Regions from separate parts of the Homo sapiens genome. Here region 1 is linked to region 2. Evidence: promoter capture Hi-C in 16 types of primary human blood cells and fetal thymus (Javierre and others, 2016). All regions are on one chromosome and are shown on one strand. The core of a region is centred on a gene start or on the middle of the fragment in contact, and the rest is flanking DNA. Distances in the headings are between cores, read along the strand shown.

The links. Contacts are between HindIII fragments. The CHiCAGO score rates a contact against its expected background, and 5 or more counts as called.
Region 1: the fragment with the promoter of LIPI here is called in contact with a fragment that was not itself captured in region 2 in 2 of 17 cell types (total CD4 T cells and naive CD8 T cells); the score reaches 5.9 in total CD4 T cells.

Annotation. Positions count from the first base shown.
Region 1 is chr21:14,207,528-14,212,649 of GRCh38, reverse strand. It overlaps LIPI (lipase I), which reads left to right and starts at 1,695. Exons shown (of 10, transcript NM_001302998.2): 1 at 1,695-1,850. The coding sequence starts at 1,805. The HindIII fragment of the contact is 13,443 bases long and covers 1-5,122 here.
Region 2 is chr21:15,056,248-15,061,347 of GRCh38, reverse strand. All of the region lies in intron 1 of NRIP1 (nuclear receptor interacting protein 1), which reads left to right. Among named protein-coding and RNA genes, the nearest start is that of NRIP1, 6.2 kb to the left of the region's middle. RefSeq lists enhancers at 2,406-2,455, 3,831-3,880, 4,101-4,150. The HindIII fragment of the contact is 994 bases long and covers 2,500-3,493 here.

The sequences.
Region 1 (5,122 bases), core at 446-2,945, 850 kb after region 2:
ATTTCTGTAGGAAGTATCTTTGTTGCTTAATTGCTGAGTCAAAGGGTAAGATTGTTAAACATTTTGACACATTGACAAATTAATAAAAGGTTGTGACAAAATATATTGTGATAAACAATGATTTTCCATCTCAAACACTAATTAACTCACTTGTAAAGTGCTTGAAGAACGCCTGATACATAGGGCTCAATAAATTTTAAATCTTCATCATCATCATCACATCATCATCATGAACATCCCCTTTGAGTTAATGTTTACATTGTAAGTGTGTATGTAAGCTACTTACAATCATTTTTTATATCCAAGGAGGACTAAACAAGTGCTCAAATAGATTGTCTTACTAAACTATTGGCATTTTGTAACTTTGTCATCCCCCAATATTTTCCTATTTAATGCAATGAACATTAATAACCTCATCTTTCTCATATTGGCAGTAGGCAAAATACATGATAATGAAGAAGCATGATTTTTAATTTTGAAACTCTATATTATACTGCCTGATATGCCAGTATTTTTCAGTATGAACTCATAAAGATGAAAGTAAATGTGCAAGAGTCATATTATAATGCCACATTGAAAGCACAAAGAGAAAAGGAAATTATAAGTGAAGGAGGAAAGATTTGTATTTTAATTTATTAAGTAAAATTTGTTAGGAAAAATTTGTTCTAGGATGTATGACACATTATCTTTCTTCCCATATTCTGAAATGATGTGGCTTATTTATATCTTTGTTAGAGAGGTGCAGTTCTTACAGCTAAGTGCTGTGGAAGGACCTAGATTATTTTTGGTCTTCAAACAAATTGTAGTGGTGGTATTTTTTAAAAAATGGAAATCTCATGTAAAACACCCAGAGATCAGACAGTTCAAAATAATGATGGAACTTCCTCAGCAGTTAAATGTTTGTGATTTTTTTAAACTAATACTTCATTTTGTTTGTGAATTTTCTCAAATACTTCCCCAGACCTCAGATTAGTTTCTGCAGATTTATAACATACAAAAAACACTTCTGTTCTTACTGTATTTTTGGAACTTTAGAGAAACTTGAATTTTTTAAAAATGAATTAATTTTTAAACTTTCAATTTATGTACTTAGAACAACTCCCAATTTTTCTTGCTTACTAAAGTCCATTGCTAAGAAAAGAAGATAATTAAGTAAACATGTAAAAAGAAAATGTATGCTAATTTTAAAATGGTCATCATATTAAATACTTTTTTTTTTATAATTTTCACCTTTTAGCCTCAAGTGATGAGCCAAAATTTTGAATGTTAAAATAGCCCCTGCTTTGGGGATGTAAAATAACATAAATATGAAAAGCTCATCTTTTATACTTGAAAGAGCTTAATGGATATGGCTTTCATTATTGATTTATGGTATATAAAGATATCTTAGTTTGTAGTCAAAGTGAATATAAACCACAACTTTTTCTGACTCTTTCCATTTCTAGCATTTTCTAACATCACATTTGCATATTTTCCTGACCGCTTCTGAAATCCTGAGGTTAAAAGGAATACAGAAAGATGTAATTAGATTTATCATTCCCTTAAATTCAACTTGTGTAGCTGAAGGTTTGTTTGTGACTTATTACAGAGCCTGTGACTTAAAAATCCTTCCCACAACCACAAGCTAAAGTGGGAGAAAACAAACTACCTCACCTTTTCAACCAAGAGGGAGGAGCAAAAATCAGTGAACTTTTACAGAAGAACCTGCCAGCCTGTGATGATCCTACCAAAGAGAAACCTCAATGAGTTACGGAATTTCCTTTTTGGTGAATTGAGTGCTGTTTTTGCTTTTCTCAGATTCCAAATGAGAGTATACATTTTTCTTTGTTTGATGTGCTGGGTGAGATCTGGTAAGATATTAATTAATAATTTGATTTATCTTTAAAAATTGCATATAAAATAGTGTGGTCTGTATTCTGGGATAAAGAATGTTATGATATAATGGGATAAAAATATGTTAGATTATTGGTACTAATTATAACAAACATTACTATTAAGAAAACTTCTGTGTGTGTACGTGTGTGTGTGCATGTGTTTGTTTAATAAGTTGACATTTTGCATTTTATTTCCTTGCCAGATAATTAGTAACTAGAAAACCTTTTTTTAAAAAAAGATGTAACTAGAGAATAAATAGAAATACTCAAGAGAAAAAAATTCAGTAATGGAGAAATTAATTTGGTATTTAAAATTATGCCTTAAATATCTTGTTTCAATTTTATTTGTTTAACTAGCTCTACTTTTGAAGAAAATTCTTACTTGGATAAATTATCGATTGCAAAACAAACAAAATAACCAGATACTACAACTTTTGCTCTCATTCAGTATGACGAAAAACAAAGCTGGTTTATGGTAATAAGGTAGAACTTTATTCTGGTTTATTGGCGTACAGTAATAAAGTTTATCAATATTAAGAGTATCGTTTTCTACTTTATGAGAAAGTAGAATTACTTGTTCGACTTATAAGTAGAACAATTAGTTCTACTTTATGGTAATAACAGTGGCAAATTTAAAATTCAAGATGATAGTTTTCTGTAGGGGTTTTATGAGAGCAGATTATTTCCTTTATGTTTTAAATTTATTTGAAATTTGTTAATGCATACTTGAATAACTTTAAAATTAACTAGAAATTACCATTATTTCTTATGTTTTCAATTGGCTATTTGAGATAACCATAAATTCTGGAAATGTTTGAATTTTATATTTAAATATAGAAACTAAATGATACTGATATGTAGTTTATAATTTATATTATTACTCTTAAGTTTCTTGATAGGGATTTTATGTTATTATAATGTAAAATAGTGGCACCTTCAGTTGAAAGCCAGAGAAATTTGAAGTCTAGGCCCCTAATCTTATGTGTCATTTTTAATACAGTTATAATCATTTTAATATCATAGTTTACATTAAAAACTTATTTGACAGACTTTCTGATATTATTGTTTTGATTAGTATTTATTTAGTCAGTTGCCTAAATTTTCAGTTGGGAAAATTCAAACATAATTGCTTTGTATGTTTCTGTCTGCTAATTCTTGTGTAATGATGATTAAAATACAATAGTAGAACTTTTAGATATTAACAGTAGTAAATAGAAAATAAGTGAATTACAAATTTTACTGATCCTCAAATTCATTTTTAACCCATGTAGACTCTATGCATTCTCTCATTTTCCTTGAATCTCTACTTGATTAAAAAATTTTGTTGATTTCCAGTAGTTTATTTCATACAAGTGTGTTTTATTTATTACACATGCTCCTTTCTTCTCCACTAGAGATTCTGATATATACCTCAAGGAGGGCATGTTTCATGGTTGTCAACATGAAAATCATTGATTAAATCTGCCTTTAATAAAGAAACGACATTCCGAAAAGCAGTTTAGTCAGGTGTTTTTAAAAATTGTAAGTAGAATAAAATGGGAGAGGAGAGATAGATCAAAAAACTTTATACAGATATACAGTACATCTATGTATCTGTATATTCAAATTATATGCATATATGCATATTTATTCTTAGTACAGTTACCAACTTATTGTAACCATTTACACTGAAATTTTTGTTGTTGCTGTTATTATATTGCAAGGGTCAGAAATTCTTTTTTTCTTTGGACAGGGTCTCATTCTGTCACCCAGGCTGGAGTACAGTGTGAAGTTCATGGCTCACTACAGCCTCGACCTCCTAGGTTCAAGAAATCCTCTGGCTTCAGCTTGCAGGGTAGCTGGGGCTGCAGGCACACACCACCACGCCTGGCTAATTTTGTAATTTTTGGAGAGACAGCGTTTCACTATGTTACCCAGGCTGGTCTCCAACTCTTGGGCTCAAGTGATCTGCCCTTCTCAGCCTCCCAAAGTGCTGGGATTACAGGCATGAGCCACTGAGCCAGCCAGGAAATATTTTTGTAAACGACCAGATAGTAAATATTTTACGTTTTGTGGGCCATACAGTCTCTTTTGCACCTACTCAGCTTTGTTACCAAAGCAAGAAAGCAGCAGTAGATAATGCATAAACAAGTAAATGTGCATGTGCACGTGCACGAATACAACTTTATTTATGGACACTCACATTTGAATTTGTTGTAACTTTCATGTCACCAAATATTATAATTTTGATTTTTTCCCAACCATTTAAACATGTAAAAAACATTCTTAGCTTGCCAACCAGACTTGACCACAGGACATAGTTTCCCACTCCTGTGTGCTTTGGAAGAGATGTTAAAGGTAGAATAATTCAGCTTTCTCATTTCACAGTTGAGGAAAGTGAAAAACAGAATAAAATGAAGTTATTTTTGTAAAGTCACAGAACTTGTAGTATGTGATAAAAATGCGAATTCTTATCCATAGGCTGGAGGTGAAGCCCAAGATTAGCAATTCTACTAAGCACTCAGGTGATGCCTACGGGTACGCAGACCACCTTGGAGTAATAAGGGTATAGGAAGTTACAGAACCTTAGAAGCCTGTTTGTAGGGCAGTAATCTTTCCAGAACCCATGGGATTCTGAGCTGAGTGCCTCAACAAAATCATTATTTTTCTCTAAATTGTGTCAGTATTTTTCTGATATGATCCACGATTAATTTTTCTTGACTTACTAAAATCAGATGCCCTCAAGGAATTTTAATTTATTGTACCAAAATCTCTTTAAACAAGGATCATGTGAAAGAAAATGAAATTTGGAACTAAAAGACCCAGATTCATGTCCTGGTGGCATGTCATCTTGTGCCAAGTCACTTAACCCTCTACATGCAGTTAATAGCTGTAATACTATCTCACTCTATTGTGAAGCTCAAAGAAGGTAACATAAATGTTGATTTGGTCACGTAGAAAGCAATATAAATTAGGTTAGAATAATCCACTGTGTTTTTTTCCGTGTTCATTTTCTCTTTAATTCTTTTAGATAATTTCCAGATGTAAAACTTCTCCGTGTGTGCTTCATGAACTACCATATGAGAATTCTCTGGGTTACCCACTTAAAAAAATGCAGATATATCTACCAAATCAGAATCTCTGGGGTTGGCCCCAGGAAATTACATTCTGAAAATTCTGATGTACCCAGTCATTTTTTTTTACATCCATTTTTAAGATCATTCTTGGGAATTCCTGGTATAAAGACTTGTTAGACACCTACTTTATTT
Region 2 (5,100 bases), core at 1,747-4,246:
TTCTGCCCCTTCAGGTGATTGATACACAATCAGAGTGGGTTTTGTTCTGTGTGTTTGTTTAATAACGATTTACTGTTACACGGATGAAGACTGGGAAAAAGCATTTGCCGTTCTAGCAAAGTCCTGTATACCCATGTCTTCCAACTGGAGAAATATTTTCATTAAAATAATCTTGACTACTGTTGAAAAGTCAAAGAAAATTTTCAACAAGATATGCTAGGGTCTTGCAGGATATGAGTTTGAATCTGTGAACTAAAAAGGTTCAAGTTGCATTTCCTTAAGTTGTAGTTTTTTCAGGGACTTTTGGGGGAGGGGGAATGAGCAGGCTCATCCTGTAGTATTTAGATAACACAACAATTAGAGAAATGTAACACCACTATGGCCACTAAGACTTGAGAAGGTAAAAACCAGGAGTGTCAGATGGTGAAACAGGCCATTGGAATGGAACTGAAGATTATGTCGAGAGGTTGGAATGAACAAAAAGTAAATGGAGGAGAGAGATCTAGTTTCTGTATCCTGTTTGCATCTGATGCTGAAGCAGAGACATGAATTGCTGATGGTAATGGATTCTATTCTCTTTTAGGAGGCCAGCAATATTATATAAATAGTGGTTGTTTGAGGGAGAGAAACGACAAGTTCCCCTTTTGTGCATGTTCACACTTTGTTTTGAATGTCTCTGAGATATCTTTAAAGTAGAGGATCAAAATTGGGTACCAGCATGGAATCAGGAGTTATACTTTGGAGGAAAATGAATTAATATTAGATCACATTTTCTTTAATCTTTTAAGATCTGGAATTTTACAAGGGTCTTCATCAACAGGGAAAACCGTGTTCTGAGTGCTAAAGTTTGGGTGGTGAACTGGATAATTCTTTTATAGGATCTCTGATAAAGATAAACATGTAAATAACTGCAGAAATAATGCTTTATTTAAGCACATTACCTATGATTCATGGTAGGGGGAAAATAGAGACCACAGAAACTCCTGAAGTCTTATCAGGGTTTCTTTGCAAACTATTATATGGATGCCCATCTGTTGTTTTTTCTTGAAATTTAGTGTTCAGGTTGATGGATACTGAATGTATAGGATTCTGAAGGTTGGAGTTTATTTAAAACAGAACTTTCCTTTTGTTTTACTACGAGTTATGAAATGCAGTTTTAATTTGTTGCAATAAATATAGAAACTGAGATGAGTAGGAATTTATACTAACTTTTCTCACTGTTATGGTACATACTCTATATCATGAACCTTGAAATTCAAATTGATCCCTACACTATCTTGCAAATATTACAAATGAAGAATTACAAAAGTTGTGGTATTTTAGCTTATCAAAATGCACCCGAAACATAAAATATTTTTCTTTAAGTTCTTAAATCAGAAGAATAGGAAAGAGTTGAAAATAAATGTGATACATTTTATCATTATATTAGTATTTTGTTGAAATTAATACCTTGAATCATGCTATGGATAAACATTTAGCCTAGAACTCTAAAAGTAGTATAATGTGAATCAGATTTAAAGAATTGAGAAGGCTGGCAATTCAAAAATAGAGGAAGAAAACACTCTTTGGGGTTATGAAAAAAAGGATCCTCTTAGTATTAAGATTTCTTAAAAAGCTATACACAGTTTTAAGATAGATTGTTCTTGAAGATAATGGGGCAAATAATTACCTGCTAAACAAATTATGAGTCCTGTGATTCTTTTTTTGGTTGAAATAATTTCAAGAACTCCAGCATATGTTGCAGTTTTGGCTAGAAAGGTGATTGTGACATACATCCATTCATCCATTCTCCCTCTCTCCTTCCCTCCTTCCCTCCCTTCCTTCTTTCCACTTTCAATACATAGGGCTGGGGTAGCAAAAAAAAATAATAATAGTAAACAGTTTTGTAAAACTTGATAATAGAATTATCTGACAGGGTTAATAGTTGTGTTTGAAATTCAGAGCTAGTATGGTTCACTCTCCCCAGAAAATAAAATTTTAATTTCTTACACCTCAGGGAATAAAAACTCTAAATTAAAACCCATCTTGCCTCTTTAACTTTGTGTCACTTAGCAAAAATATCTTTAAGGATGGAAAGAAGAGACCCCATGTGTCTTAAATTCCAAGTCACTGTGTGACTAAGCTCGGAGTTCCAATAAATATTAAACTAGAATTCTGCTGGGAATTTGAGTCATCCGCTTAAGCTACTCCTGGGACCAAGACAACTCTGGTTGACCTGATGTTGATGTTTATTCAGAGCTTTGGTGGAAAGGAGCCTCTCACCCTTGGACTTCTAATTAACAAAGTCATTCCTTAGTCACTTGTTAAGTGATAGAGCTACTCCTTGTTTTCAGGCCTGTAATTTGCTAAAGGATTGAGCACAACAGAGAAACTAAGGAGTTTGGAGCTTCTGCTGTTTAGAGTCTGCTTTCATTATTTTACTTTTACTTTCTTATCTAGCTATGTGAGGGTACTATGTAAAAGTCTGGTGATTTGCTTTAGATACTTAAGAGAAAAGCTTAGCTGTAGTCACATATAGTGTCTAAGATGGCTTTCCTTATAGTTACATGTTTTTAATAGTTGAGTTTGCCTATACTCTTCATAACATGTGCACATGTTAAATATGTTACTGCTTTAAAAAAGCATTTCATTAGTAAGATGGGGAATCGTTTATGTACAATATTGAAATGAGAGTAGTAGTATAATGGTGTGTTTGGTAACTAACAGGACACAATCAAAATTTGAGAATTAGAAGTTCAGAATGAAAAAAGGACTTCTCTCTTGAGGAATCTATCTAGAAGTTGAGAGATAGCAAGTGTTTAACAGAGTGTAATGATTTCTGAGAAGCATGCTTTTAAAGATTTTTTTTAAATTCCTGAATTTATGAGTTTATATTATAATAATCTATAATAGAGCAATAGATTTATACACTGGAAAAGAAACAAATTAAGGGAAGGAGAGAATACACAATGACATGGAGGACATCAAGAAAATATGTTTGGAAACATGTGAAACTCTCCAAATGGGAAATAAATATTCTTGAGAGAAATTAATCACAGTTGCAGTTTTTCTCCTAAAGGGACTGTTTGCACAATGGGTTATGTAGGCTCAGGTTTGATTTTTGAAAAACATGTTAAAAAATAGTATTCCTGTTATTCCACGTTTATTTTTCGAGTTTAGGTTCTGCTACTAAATCAAGATGATACAGATAAAAGGAAAGCCCTTTTATCTCCCCCGGCAGCATCTGTTGAATAAGGGGGTTATATTTGATTTCTAAATTCTAAAATTCTGACTGTACAGCAGTATATGCCGTTGTTGACAGTAAACAGTAAAGATTTCAAGCCTGTGGTTTTAAAAGAAGAAGAGATGATTGGGTAGAAACTTGGAATATTAAGAAGTTGTTTAGTTACTTGGCTGTTGCCTTTTCCTGTTTTGTTGGGAGGGGGAGCAGGGAAAGGAAGAGTATTGAACTTTTTGGGGCAACCGTTTTGTGCCAGACATTGTGCTGGAAGCTTTACACACATTTTGTCTTTTAATCCTTCCAGTTCCCCTGTGACATGTAGGTATCATTTTCTCTAGTTTAGAGATAAGGAAACCTAGTCTGAAAAATGCAAGAATAGTTAACTTGCCTGTGGTCACATGGCAAATTTCATTGATAATTTGATTTTCTTAAAGAATATGCCATTGTTTGAAGAAAAAACCAGTTGCCATCTGACATTCAGGAAGCCGTTAAAAAACCTTGCTCCCAACCTGGTAGCCATAAAACTCATGCAGCATTTGCAAGCCTCATAGCCTGGATTCTCCAAGACCAGGCTCTCTGGGAAGGCACATTGTTGCCAGTCGATGATTCTGCAGCAGCTTATGCTAGTTCTCAAAGCGCTGATGTCCTGCTACCTGCATTGCGCTGGAGGGAAATGTAGTCACCAAGGGCTGCCGCACAGGCTCTTTTCCCTCCAGTGCTAACTCTTCTGAAGTGTATCACAGAATTACTGCGGTGTTATTTGAGGCAGTGAAAGCAACTATGTTTCTTTATATAATTCATTGAAATAGCTTGTCATGGTCTTAAACTGAGTGTTCCCAAGGCTAGTTATGTTTGTCCACTTCAAGGAGCAGTTGTAGCAAATTCAGAACCATAGCTCTTCCTGGTTGAAAAGTTACAACTCTTGACTATTAACAGTTCTTAACATGATTTTTTTTTTAATTACCCTATCTTCACTCACAACAATTTTGTTAAAGACTATCCTGTGCTGATAAACTGCTCTCTGAAATGCAAAGAGGAAATTAACAATGTATTTGTGAATTGGAAGGAAGTGGAAGCAGAGAGATGAGGAGTAGTTGACTTTATTTTGAGGGTAGACTGTGTCAGGAGGGAGATTGTTGAGTGGGGGAGCTTTGTGGCACATAGTACATTTTTAAGTACATACCAGGTACGTTCTTTTATTGTTAAAGCCATAAGAAATGGAGTTATGAGCTTCTCCACCTCCTTTTACTTGCCTCATTTAAAATTTATGGAATTTTTGAACCTAAAAGATTCAAGCTGAGTGGTTCCCTATACACTGAAAGGTATAGTCAAATTGAAACTATATTGGAGACACAAAGATGAATAATAAGACGTGTAAACATAATATTTTCTAGGGTGCTTTGGATTTTGAGTTGCCAAATCATGTTGGAAAAGCAAGAGATTTGTATAAAAGCTGCAAAGGAAACATCTGTGTTTTGTTTAGAGAATACGTTATATTTTGGCCAAATAAGAAAAAAGAGAAATTGTCAAAGTGAACAATATGGGGGGAAGAATGTCTTCCTAAAGATCAGAATGAACTTATATTATTTCCTTAACTGATCCATGCTTTTTAAAAAAAAATGAATTAAAATACACTGAATCTATGTGAAGCCAAATATAAGGATTGAAAACAGTCTTTTTTAAATTTACCATCTGATTCCTTTCCAATATCTGGATGTTTGCTATTATTGTGGCAAGACCCATTGTTAACTGTATTGCTAAAAATCTACTTTTATCTATCCTGGTAATACTTGACTGACCTGAGTCAAAGTCACATTTTCTTTTTTTTTTTTTTTTAACTTTGAATTTCTTTTGCTTGGGCTTTCACAAATTGAAGTTAT